Linked DNA regions of Homo sapiens: all the other regions are linked to region 2. The links are contacts of gene promoters, found by promoter capture Hi-C in blood cells and fetal thymus (Javierre and others, 2016). All regions are on one chromosome and are shown on one strand. The core of a region is centred on a gene start or on the middle of the fragment in contact, and the rest is flanking DNA. Distances in the headings are between cores, read along the strand shown.

Region 1 (4,337 bases), core at 1,589-4,088, 270 kb before region 2:
CACAGAGACTATATAGAGTGAGAACTCACTCATTACCGTGAGCACGGCACCACACTGTTCATGAGGGACCCACTCCCATGACCCAAACACCTCACACTAGGCCACTGCCAACACTGGGAGATCAAGTTTCAACAGAGAGATTTGGAGGGGACAAATATCTAAACCATATCACAGACCATGCCCCGTGGCCTTGGCCTTGGCACTCAAGGCTGCTAGGATCTTGTTCCCATCTTTCCCCTGAAGCTAGACCAAATAGCAGAAGCCTGTGCCTTTAATCTGTAGCCTGTGGGGAACCTCTTCTCCCTCCCTTCTTCTGGCTCTTCAATACTCATCTCCTGTCAGCTCTCCAAGTTAGATCAGGGTCCTCCTCAGTGTTCCCAAAAGACCCACCATCTTCAAGTGATAACAGCAGTAACAACTACTCTGCCTGAGGCTACCGAGGCCCTGGCCAAGTGTGGGAAAGACAAAGATGAAATGGACCCCACCCTGTCCTCAGTGGGGAGGGGGGTGGGAAGAAGACAGTGACAGGCCTGTGACAGTGCAGTGAGCAGGGAAGCCCAGAGCCACAGGAGCCCAGAGGAGAGGCCCCATGCCGACTGGGGTCCAGGGAGGAAGCCCGTGTGACCAGAGCACAGGGGGCAGAGAGCTAAGCGTGATGCCAGCACAGAGGCGGGAGAAAGCTGGCCTGTCCAGGGAACTGCGAACAGCTTGGTTTGGCTGGGAACAGGCACAGTGAGGGAGGAGAGGCGAGGTGGAAGGAGTCTGGGAGGCCCGCTCACAACAGGCCCAGGAGTGTGGGGCTTCCTCCCAAGGGCAATGAGGAGCCGTGGAAGGCTTTTGAGCAGGAGAGTAGCCCACTCTGGTGATGGTCTCTGTATGGAGAGTTGTGACAAGGTGGAGGCAGAGTGGCAAGTGGGCAGACATGAGTGATAACACCTCAGTTCTTCTGTGGGAAGATGTTCCAACTCAGCCTGTCTCTGCCCCCATGGTCCCACTCACCTCTGCTCTACAGCAGGCGAGGAGTCAGGCTTCCTCAGCTTTGCCAAGGGAGACCTCATCATCCTGGACCATGACACGGGCGAGCAGGTCATGAACTCGGGCTGGGCCAACGGCATCAATGAGAGGACCAAGCAGCGTGGGGACTTCCCCACCGACAGTGTGTACGTCATGCCCACTGTCACCATGCCACCGCGGGAGATTGTGGTATGTGGCCTGGGGGTGGCAGATGGGTGGGAGGTGCCATTAGACCCCTCTTTGTCCACTTCCCACAGCTGTACAATAGGTTAACGGTCTAGTGCATCTGTGAAGATGATCTTGGGATCTTATGGGACACACATTTAAAGTTGGGGCAGTGCTCAAACCTGTGCCAGGTGGGGAGGGGCCTAGAAATGGCATCAGATGAGGAACTGCCAAGGGGTGGGGCCGGGGGTGGGGATTGGAGAGAGGTGTATCACCCGCACTGTCTGAACAGGCAGTGGGGGCACAGCTGGGAAGGGGGCCCTGCTTCTTCTGGAGCCCCCTTGAGAGCAGCTCTGAGGACTCACAGCCCAGCTTCCCTAGTGGCTCCTGAGCCAGGCTCAGTGGACGAGGCAGCTCTCATACCATGTCCCGCTGCCTTGTCCAGGCTTTCTGACTGACCCAACCTGATCAGACACCTGGGGAAGGGCCCTGAGCTCAGCACAAAGGAGGCAGCAGGGACCTCAGAGACCCCAAGGAGGAACGGGGCTCCCAGGGTCAGAATGGGGCATGGGGTCCATACCCCTGAAGAGTCTCCCAGAGTCCAGAAGGCTTCAGGGTATACCATGTTGATCCTGGTGGCCACAGGTAGAGAGCTGACCTGAGCCCCCTGTCTCTTGGTCCCTAGGCCCTGGTCACCATGACTCCCGATCAGAGGCAGGACGTTGTCCGGCTCTTGCAGCTGCGAACGGCGGAGCCCGAGGTGCGTGCCAAGCCCTACACGCTGGAGGAGTTTTCCTATGACTACTTCAGGTGATGCCTCCTGGGGAAGGATGGGAGCCACAGGGCTAGGAGCTGCAGGCTTCCGCTACTGTCTGGTCGTGTGCTGGGGCTGCTTTGTGAAGCCCCCACCTGTGAGCAGGGCCTGGGTCAGAGGGAGCTGGAGGGCTGTTTCTGTCTGCCAGGATGACCCGTCCTATGTGTCTCATCTTATCTTCCTTCCTTCAAGAGATGTCACTGCACCCACCCCAGGCTGGGCATTCGAGACTGAGTCCTGGTGGGGATGCGGGCTGGAAGCAGGCAGCTGGGATTCGGCGTGCCCAGCACTGTGATGAGGATGCTTCTGGGGCGGGGGGTGGGGGGCAGTGAGAAGCTTCCTGATGGAGGCGTTGTGCACTGAGCTCTACAGGGGGCGCAGGGTGGTGGGGGAGGCTGGGGCACAGCCCGTGGTGTTCTCGCCGCTGGGGTTTCACAGCTGAGAAAGAAAGGCCCAGTGACTGCCAGTGACTCGCCTCGGGTCACATGCAGGGCAGGGAAGAGCAGGGCCTGGTGCCCACTCTCAGCCTCTGGACACAGGGATGGGTGGGGGTGGGGGTCTCACAACCTGGGGGTTTCTCCCCGGGGCTGCCAGCGATGGGGCGTTGCTGACGGTCCCTGTGCTGCGGCAGGCCCCCACCCAAGCACACGCTGAGCCGTGTCATGGTGTCCAAGGCCCGAGGCAAGGACCGGCTGTGGAGCCACACGCGGGAACCGCTCAAGCAGGCGCTGCTCAAGAAGCTCCTGGGCAGTGAGGAGCTCTCGCAGGAGGCCTGCCTGGCCTTCATTGATATCCGTGCCACTGGGCTGTGCCCAGGGGAGCCAGGGACCGGGCAGGGCCTTCGTCTGCACACTGCCTTCCTCCTGAGGGCCTGCTGCGACCCGGGCACACATGGGGAGGGTTGATGGAGTACCCCCTCCCTTGCACCTTTTGATATGCAAGGGGCTGCCTCGCCCACTGTTTTCTCTGACCCTGTCATTTGGGTGCCAGGTGGATTTGGTGCCTTGTGCTGGGCCAGGCATGCAGGTAGAGCAGGGACCAGCCCAGCCCCTGGCCTCATGGGACCATACACACATCCAGATCAATGTTGAGATGGGACCCGGCAGCACTGTGACCTGACCCATGTGACCTGGAGGGGGCAGAGAGGACTTCCTGGAGGAAGTGGTATCTAGGCTGAGCCCTGAAGGCTAAGTACGACTTAGCCAGGCAAAGGGGAGGGAGGGGGAGTGTTCCAGAGAGAGGGAGCAGCAGCAAGGCCCCGAGGCACACAGAGCAGGGCTGTTCCAGGGCTCCGGGGCTTCAGCACAGACAGGATGGGAAGACTGGGCTTAGGCAGGGTTCCCAAGCCCTGTGAGGAAGCTTGGGCCGTGTCCTAAGGCCAGGGTGAACCACTGGGCAGGGGGTGGCATGGTCAGATTCACCATCTGGGAAGTCCATCCCAGCTGCTGTGAGGGCTTGGGATGTGGGGCTGGTGACTGTGAGGAGGCGGAGAGAGGGTGGGGCAGATCATGCCCATTTTGTGAGTGTGCAGCCTGAGGGCCCAGGGTCACAGCTTCAGGTGATGCAGGCCCTGTGGGAAGTGGGGCCTCCGGACCCCAGGCCAGTGCTCCCTCTATTCGGCACAAGCCCTTCCTTGACAGTCCCCAGCTGTGCTCAAGTACATGGGCGACTACCCGTCCAAGAGGACACGCTCCGTCAACGAGCTCACCGACCAGATCTTTGAGGGTCCCCTGAAAGCCGAGCCCCTGAAGGACGAGGCATATGTGCAGATCCTGAAGCAGCTGACCGACAACCACATCAGGTGAGCCAGGCACAGTGGGCGGATGAGGGGCAGACCTCACCTGCTGTGACGGGCAGCTCTTACCCTCCTGAGGCAGCTGCTGGCTCTGCCTGGATGCAGTCCTTCCTCACACAGAGCCGGGAGCTGCTCATGGGCCCCCTCACATCCTAGCTTGGCCCCAACGCCCAAGGAGGGCCTAGCAGGAACTGGGAGGTGGTGGATGTCTTCCTTTGAGTCTGTCCTCTAAGGGTAACAGCCCCAGCTCCTCCTAACGTTTGGCTGGAGCCTCGTCTGGATGCCCCTTCCCTGCCTAGACCCTGCTGTCTGCCTGCAGGTCCAGCTCAGTCAAGTGTCCCCTCCCTGGTGCAGGCTGGGCCGGCTGTCAGCTGGAAGCACTGGCTGAAAACTCTCATGGGTTTGAGTGTTGGTCCCAATGCCCAAAGGGTGCCACCTTCTCCTCCCGCTGGGACAGCCCAAGACAGGAGTAGAAAGTCAGGCACAGGCTCCTCTCAGAGTCTGAGAGAAGCTCCACCCTCTCTCCTTACACCCAGCCCCCCGCCTTCC
Region 2 (4,199 bases), core at 1,453-3,952:
CACAAACTCAAGTAATTGCAACAGAGCGCTACAGAAGGCCATAAAAGTGGTATGTACATGAGCCAGAGGATGGAAGAGCAACTCATTCTATGCAGGAAAAGGAGAGACTAAGGGACTGCATCCCAGAGGCCCAACAAGGTCATCTCCACAGGCAGGTAAGGGGTGGAAGGGAAGCATTCCAGGAAGAAAACAGAACATGCAAGAGTGAAGATGAGAGTGGCAGGGGAGCCACAGAAAGTGAGACTGCAAAGGCAGGCAGTGGTCTGATCCCTGAGAGCTTTTTATTCCATGTTACTCTGAAATTTATCTTCAGAATATGAAGAGTCAGGGGTAGGGGGCGCTGATGTGGTAAGGTTTTGTTTTACAGAAATCTTTCTGGATGCACAGTACCTTCCTTTGAGGCACTGCTTCCTTCAAACCTAGCACAGGGACTCAAAACATGTGCTTAGTAAATGTATATTGAATTGAACTGAACAAGCTTTTTACCAAATGCCCTGTTATGGATGAGGCAGGTCACCTTCCCTGCAGGACTCACTTTGGCCAAGAGAAGACTTGTAAAACAGGTCCAGCAGCCTCAATTATTGCACACTACTACCTGTACAACTGGAGTCCCCCAGAGATTAGGGCAGACCTTCATTGTTTACTTGTCTACCTCACCCATTAGACTTTGAGCTCTTTGAAGACAGGGAATATCTTAATAGACTGAATCCCCATAGCCTTAGCAAGAGGCCTGAAACATAGTAGCTCTCCGAACTCCAGTAATGTTGGATAAACGAATTGACTGAATAAGCAAATTTACCAAGGTAGACCCATGAGCTCATGTAGTTAAAGAGTATGGATAAGCTTCAGGGAAAGTATGGGAAGTTTTCAGGGTCAATGTTCCCAAAACCCTTTTTGAAAGGCATAGTTTCTAGTTGAGGTGGGGAGTTTTTATATGCACCTGACTTAGAATTTTCCAAATAGGAACCAAAATGTTGTAAGTGCTGTGGTAGAAATCCCACCGGGCCAATGGGAAGAAATCAGCTCTGTCTGTAAGAGGAGAGACAGGATGGAGGCCAGCAAAGACTTCACAGTGTGGGAATTCTTCAGTGGACTCTTGAAAGCTGAGTCCGGTGCTTGCTACTTGCCCGTTTTGGGGCATAAAACCAAACTTCTGGAGCTTTTAAGGCTGGAAGTGACCTGCTCAAGGTCACACAAGAAGTAGATGAAGCCACAGGGTAAGAGAGATGAGGTATCTGTACTGATAATTCCTACTTTCTCCTGACAGAGTTGAAAGAGAACCCAAAAATGTAGGAGGCAAAATTAAAGATTGTTCTCAGGAACAATTCTTAAAGTCAAGACTAATGAATCTGAATTTTTATTAGTAACCACGGAACTAACCCTTCCCTTCACTGTTCACAGTTTTTGTAACAGTAGAACAATTATCCAAGGGGTTTAAAAACCAAGGACGTTGCTCACAACGCCACACCCACTACTTCTCAAGTATTCTTCCAAAACACTCCCAGTAATGTGTACTGCTGAAATAGGATAGCGAAGGCTACAACAATCATGTCTTTTCAAACGTAATAATGAACATAAAATAACTATAAATCTCCTTCCCCGGTTGTTTTTCACTTCCCAAGTTACAGAATATTCCGGGGTGGGGGAGGGGCTGCGTAAGTCAAGTCCTACCAGCCCTTATTTTTCAGGGAGTAGAACCCTAAAGGTGACTGTCCAAGCCTGGAAGGGGTCATTTATTCCATGCAGAAGGAACTGGGCGCCGCTTTGCTGTGCCTCCTCGTAGCGGGACAGGGTGAGCGCCGCAGGACTGCGAAGTTCGGGACGGACTCGGTCCCGGACCGGTACTCGTGTGGCCTCCCGGCTCCAGCCTGGCCTGGCCCCGCCCCGCCCCTTCCCTCTCCCAGGTCTCTCGAATCGCCCGGCGTCTGAGACCCGCGACCCCGCCGGTACGCGCACAGGGGGCCTTTGTTGGCCCGACGGGAGCGGGCCTCGCGGGGCGCCGCCCGCCTCACCTTACCTGGCGCCTCCTCCCGCCCAGGCGCCCGGCCCCGCAACGCGAAATAAATGGGCCCAGACCCCCACTCCACCCGTCCCCACCCCCGCGCCCCAGCCCTGGCAGCCCGGGACGCGAGGGGTACTGGGCGGTAGGCCCGCTCTCACCTTCCGCGCTCGCTCAGCTCCTCTCGGCTCCTCCTCCTCCTCCCGGCGGTGGGTGCCGCCTAGCCGGGAGTGAGGGCGCGAGTGTGCGCGAGCTACCGCTTCACTTTCTCCCTCCTGCCGCCGCCGCCGCGCTGCCCGTGGCGGGGCTCCCCTCAGGACAGGGGAACTGCGAGGGAAGGGATGATGGGGGGGCGGGAGGGAGCGAGGCGACGCGGGCGGGGGGGGAAGGGGGGACTGAGGGGCGAGGTGCGAAGGGCTCAGATGGCCTCTGAGGCAGGAGGTGGTAACTGGATGCGGAGACCAGGTTCCTCGAGGGGGCTCACGAAAGCGCGGGGCTCCGTGGAAAAGGGAATGAGAGTCCAAGGGGGAAGGCGTCTGTGGGGGAGGACTGCAGAGCCTGTGAGGGAAGCGCGATGGGCGAGCGAGGGGGCGGGAGCGTGTGGGGGAAGCCGTGAGGGGGCGTCTACTGTGCAGCCACCACCTTCGGCTCCGGCTGCAGCCGCGGGAGGGCAGCCTCCCCCGCCCACAGCCGCGCTATTGTACGCCGCCCGGCAGGCCTGACCGCCTAGTTCACTGGCTCCCCTACTCCTCCTCCTCCCGCCTCCTCCTCCCCTCTGCCCTTTCCCCTTCTCCCCCTCCCCCTCCCCCACTCCCCCTCCCCGGCGCGGCGGCGGCGGCTGCGGCTCCGGTGGAGCCGTGCCCGCCCCGCCTCCCGCAGGTGAGAGGGGGCGGGGAGGGCCTGACCGACCCGTGGGAGCGAGGCCAAACCCTGGCCCGCATGAGGGCGAACGCCTGGGATTACGTCATCGGCGCGTGACGCCAGAGGCTGGGGAATCACCCGCTTGCTGCGTGACGTCATCGCGTCGCGTCACTGTTCTCGGTCCGCTGTCCGTGGCGGGTTGTTTCCGTGCAGCCTTTCTATCAGACAATTTTGGGACGATTTCTGGGAGGGCTACTGTAGTAGTCAGGATGGAGAAAGACGGCTAACTTCCGGCGCTGAGGGTCCTTTTCAGGTTAACAAAGCACCACCGCATCTATGAGCTCGTTGTCAAGGGCTGAATTTGAAAACTATCCGATGTCGTGTGATCTCACAGCCAGACATGTATTATGTTTTCTTTCTGTGGGAGAGGGGGCAGGGGTGGGAGGAAGACAAAGAAATTATAACGGAGATGTTTGAACTAATGTGAACTGACATACGAAAAGAATGGGCTTCCTTTCACGTTTTTTCCCCTACCGTGGAGGGTACTTTCGACCCAAAGCTTTCTTTCTCCTGAGCTCAGATTGTGTATTTCCCAATACCTCCCGAGCAGCATTACCTGCATACTCTTCGTACCTCAGATTCAACATGTGCGAAACTGAGACAGCATTAGAAAGGCTAAGAGTCCGGAATCAGGTTGCCTTGCTTGAAATCCTAGCTATTCAAATATTAGTGATAGGACCTTGACATTTCTAAGCCGTAATTTTTCTGTAATAATAAGTAGTACCTTAACTAGGTCTTCCTAAGCCTCAGTTTTACCATGGTAATAGTAACAAGCCCTTTAGAATGTTGGCTATTATTATTATTTCCCCCCCAAAATTGCTTCTTACGTTCCTTTCCGTTCTCAATGAATGGGCCACCCATTCAACAATCCCCTAAGCCAGGAACCTAGACATACTAATAGCTCCCCGTTCTTCCTCTCTCAACATCCATATCAAGTTGGACACCAAGTCTTGTAGCTTCTCCTAAATATTTTTCAAGTCCTTGCCTGTGTCGTCTTCTACTACCACCACCTGAACAACTGGAGCAACCTTTAGTCTCTTCAAACTCAATCTATTTTTCTCACTAGTTACCTGAGTAGCCTTATAAAAGCACAAATCTGATGATGTCCTCCCGTTTAAACACCGAAAGGATTTTATTGCTTTCAGGATAAAGTTCAAACTCCTGAACTTGGCACTTTATTACCTGACTGCTTACACTAGCCTTTCTAGCTTTGTCTCACATCATTTATTTTTTGCTCCAAGCACACTGAAATATTAACGTTATTTGAATACACATTTCT
Region 3 (4,272 bases), core at 188-2,687, 330 kb before region 2:
ACCCAGAGAGACACAGCGTTAGTGGTGGAGCTGGGACTATAAGCCAGATCTCCTATGTGTTCACTGTGGATATGTGCTGGCTTTCCTGGGGGGAGGCCCCACAGGGGTTTTGGAGTACCCCTGAGAACATTCGAACAGACCCATTCTAGGAAGGCACGACTCGGGCTGGGAGCCTGCATAGCTGGCAGGGCCTGGGAAACCCTCTGCCCTGGTCATATATTTGATAGGAGAAAAGCTGGGACTTGCCCCACGTTACACAGCCACACTGAGGCATGTGTCGTGTCACAAACGAGATCTTCCATTCAAGGTGAGTACCAAGCAAGGCGCCCCATACAGTGTGTAAAGTTGTCACGGAACATGGTGTAGGAATGGGGCCAGATGCAGTGGTGGGGTGCCTGGGGCTAGCCATGGGGATGGGAGGGGGTGGTGGGGTCCTACCTGGAGCCTGGTTCCCCATTCTCACCTCCCTCCTGCCTCTCAATGAAGCTTCATCTTCTTTCATGGCTTCCTTCCTCCCTTCCTTCTCCCTCTGAGCCAGTGACTCCTGATCCACCCTGATTTTGGTCCTGGCTCTGTCCTCCAGATGCTAATAGTCCTGTCAGTCACTGATTTGATGAGTGACTGTGGCCAGGTTCCTTTCTCTCTTTGGCCCTCAGTTTCCTCGGCTGTAAAATGAGGATCCTTACAACCTGCCTGCCTTGCGATGCTTCAAGAACTTTCCCTAGGGCCACAGGAATATTCCCCTTCAGAAGTCCTAAGACCCCAGAATTCTCCCTGAAGCCTCTCCCCTGCCATCTGAAACTGTTTCCTCAAGTCTGGCCTAGAGCAAGATAGTTTGGTCACTGCCCTCTGTGACAGCCCTAAGTAAGAAGAGTTGTAGTCATGTCTGTTTGCTGTGTGGCCCCAAGAGCTTCACTCAGCCTCTCGGAATCTCCATTTCCTGCTCACATGAAGTTTTTTTTATTTTGGTTATTTTATCTTCTCCCAGGGGAAACAAACATTTTCTGTGTGCCAGGCCCTGTGCTGGGTTGAGGGATACAGGTGACTCAGAGAGACCCCTGCCTTCCAGCTGCCCTCAGCCTAAGTCTCCAGCTTGCCTTCAGGGCCCTTGAGCCATCTGGGCGGGGGAGGACTCTATCAGTGTTTCCTGTTTTGCTCAGTGAGCTGCATGTGGGACTGGGCCCAGGGAATGTCAGGAAAGAGCCCTGGATTTGGGGTTTGTCAGACCTGGGCTTCAGTCCTGGCTCTGCCACAAAACAGCTGTGTGACCTTGGGCACGTTTCTTGACCTCTTTGAGGAGAGAAATTGGAGACAGTCCCCTGGCCACATGCTGTTGCCCACAAGCGAACACGCTCCCCACCCCTTCTCTCTCACCGAGGCCCGCTCTGGGCTGGGCTCTGGGGAGCCACAGATGAGGGACTCAGACCCAGCCCCACCCTAGGGAGCTCCAGGCCAGTGGGGAAGGGGAGCAGACCCTGTGTGGGGTGGCTGTCAGGGGTAAGCCCAGGGTCAGGGAGTGCAGCTGGGGCTTGGACACAAGCAGCTGTGAGGATTATATGGGGCAGTTTACGGGATGCAGCCTGTGGAGCCCAGGCCCACAGTGAATGCTCAGTAAACAGTTCTCTTCCACGCCCAAGCCTCTCCAATTTTTCTTACTTTTTCTGGGAGGAAGTTTGGGTTTGGGACTAGCCTGACTCTATCATGTGCCAACCTCCCATTCACATGAAGAGAGGGTCCACAGGGGCAGCTGTGGCTGGAAAATAGCACATAGATGGCAGTGGTCCCATAAGACTATAATGCCATATTTTACTGTACCTTTTATGTGTATGTTTAGATATGTTTACATACACAAATACACACTATGGATTATGACTGCCTATAGTATTCAGTACAGTAGCAGGTTGTACAGGTTTGTAGTGTAGGAGCAAGAGGCTACCCCATCCAGCCTAGGTGTGTAGTGGGCTGTACCATCTAGGTTTGTGAAGTACACTCGATGACTTCATATGTTTGCATAGAACTTATCTCTGACATTAACAATGCATGACTGTAGCTGGTTCTGATGGGAACAAGAGGAGGCTGAAACAGTAATGAGTTGGTCTTGGACTCACTGAGTTCAGCCTTCACTGAGAAATGTGGAAATTGAGGCTCAGAGAGGTCAGCGACTCACCCAAGGCCGGGTAGGGCCTGAAACCCAGTCTTCTGACTCCTAGCCCAGAACAGATTCTGTCAGACCATTACCACGGTTTACTTCATTGTGAATCAGTTTTATAAGTTGTTACATTTTTTTTTACTTGATATTAAGTTATATTCTTATTAGAATGTCCCAACTCCTAGGGAGTTGGAGTACCACCCAAAAAAGAATACTTTTATTAGGATTAGAATAAAATCTAAGCTTGTATCCCAAGGCCAGCAAAGGGCCTATGTGTCCTGGACCCTGCCTACTTCTCTGAGCTCCCTCTCGCCCATCAGGTCCTACCTCCTGGCTGTTCCTTTCTGCCGCAGGGCCTTTGCATGTGCTGTTTCCTATGCTGGGATTACTGTCCCCTGCTTTTCCCTTGGCTGACTGCTTGTCACCCTTCAGGTGTCAGCTCAGCGATTCCCTCCATGGAGCGGCTCCATTGGCTACTGGGTCTAGGTTGGTTGGCTCTGTCATTCTCCACCATTGGCTTGTTTGTTTCCTTGACAGCACTCACCAGTATCCAAAGTGATCGTGCTGATCTATTTGCTCAGTTTTTTGTCACCACCTCTAACTAGAACGTAGACTCCATAATCACTGCTCAACCCCCAGCATTTAGATTAATCAGTGCTTTGCACTCAGTAGGTAATCAATACATGTTTGTTGAATCCATCAGTGCTGAATGTGGTTGTTCTTAGTCCATTTCTCTGACTTGGGATTTTACGTTTGGCTCTCACGATCCCTTGCTGAATGAGTAGTGCGAGTCAGGCCCTGGGCCAGATGCCGCAGGGGACACAAAGCGACATCCTCCCCCAGGATCAGGGCTCTCTCCACATGCCAGAAGACAATGTGGCTGAACCCTTCTCTAGTGCCCAGCACGGAGTGGTGTCCCTGTGAGGAACCTGTCATAATGATGATAAAAATCAGCCCTGGAGGTGAAGGAGGCTGCAGCATTCACCCACTGTCTGGGTGTCCTGTGGTGTCATGTTAGAGAGGAAGTGGTTTGAGTGGTCTGGTGTTTCTGTCTAGACCCCAGTGAATCTGTCATACACATGTAGGGTGTAGATCCATGGGGAGAGCTGGGCTTTGAGAGGCCTTGGCTCTCTCTGAGCCTCTGCTAAGTCATCCATAAAATGGGAATATGGCTGTTCTAGAGGGGGGATTGATGAGATTGCATAAATGCCCAGCCCAGGGCCTGCACTGCTCCAGAAGGTTGCTAGTAAGTGTGAGTCCCCTTCTCTTCCCCCTTGTGTGGTTGGCTCAGAGCCTCTGATTGTAGCAGAGGGATATAGGGCTGCCTGGAAGGGGCTCCAATCCCCCTCCCTGCTCACCTGGGCTGAGACTCTCTCTCGCCCATAGGGGGACCATGTGTGGATGGACCTGAGATTGGGGCAGGAGTTCGACGTGCCCATCGGGGCGGTGGTGAAGCTCTGCGACTCTGGGCAGGTCCAGGTGGTGGATGATGAAGACAATGTGAGTAGTCCCCTCCCTCCTCCTGCCCCATGCCTTGGGGTCAGACCTGGGCTGACAGCTGCCTTGATGCAGGGAGATGATCGAAAGGAGATGGAGGCCATGCCCATGCCCCCACTTCTGCCTCTCAGATGCCCCCTTCCATGAGCTTTCCCCAGCACCCCAACAAGAGGGAACCCCTGCCTGCCTCAGGCTACTTGTTCTGTTTCCACAAGCACTTCAGTCCACTCTGCATGGTGTTAGAGATGTGTGTGTGTGTGGTGGGGTTTGAGTGCAGGGGGAGCAGGCTAGGAGCTCCTCAGACACAGAGGTGCTTTGGGGGCAGACTGCATTCAAATCCTATCTCGTCCATTTGTTAGCTGCGCAAACTTGGCCTAGTCTCCTTCCCTCCTGACCCTCAGTTTCCTCTTTGTAAAATGAGGATAATAATACGTATCTCACAGGGCTGTTGACCCATACATGAGATCACACGTGCAGAACACCTCAGTGAAGTTAGTGCTAGTCTGAAAGTTAAATGAACGTCCACAGCCTCACTGTGTTGGGTTACTGACATCACATGAATCCACTGTCCACCTTGACACTGCTCTGGAAATTGGTCTCACAGATTAACCCTTTATCTGTGGCCC

Evidence for each region. Contacts are between HindIII fragments. The CHiCAGO score rates a contact against its expected background, and 5 or more counts as called.
Region 1: a contact is called between a fragment that was not itself captured here and the fragment with the promoter of PAK1 in region 2, in 2 of 17 cell types (endothelial precursors and megakaryocytes). The highest score is 6.1, in endothelial precursors.
Region 3: a contact is called between a fragment that was not itself captured here and the fragment with the promoter of PAK1 in region 2, in 3 of 17 cell types (endothelial precursors, M2 macrophages and megakaryocytes). The highest score is 6.2, in endothelial precursors.

Annotation. Positions count from the first base shown.
Region 1 is chr11:77,200,436-77,204,772 of GRCh38, forward strand. It overlaps MYO7A (myosin VIIA), which reads left to right. Exons shown (of 49, transcript NM_000260.4): 36 at 1,013-1,203; 37 at 1,865-1,989; 38 at 2,625-2,782; 39 at 3,641-3,794. Among named protein-coding and RNA genes, the nearest start is that of MYO7A, 74 kb to the left of the region's middle. The HindIII fragment of the contact is 1,023 bases long and covers 2,328-3,350 here.
Region 2 is chr11:77,471,392-77,475,590 of GRCh38, forward strand. PAK1 (p21 (RAC1) activated kinase 1) reads right to left here and starts at 2,703. Exons shown (of 15, transcript NM_002576.5): 1 at 2,161-2,703. RefSeq lists an enhancer at 1,811-2,727 and silencers at 1,968-2,277, 2,298-2,347, 2,578-2,937. The HindIII fragment of the contact is 2,576 bases long and covers 842-3,417 here.
Region 3 is chr11:77,139,174-77,143,445 of GRCh38, forward strand. It overlaps MYO7A (myosin VIIA), which reads left to right. Exons shown (of 49, transcript NM_000260.4): 3 at 3,536-3,649. Among named protein-coding and RNA genes, the nearest start is that of MYO7A, 13 kb to the left of the region's middle. RefSeq lists an enhancer at 837-1,403. The HindIII fragment of the contact is 1,906 bases long and covers 485-2,390 here.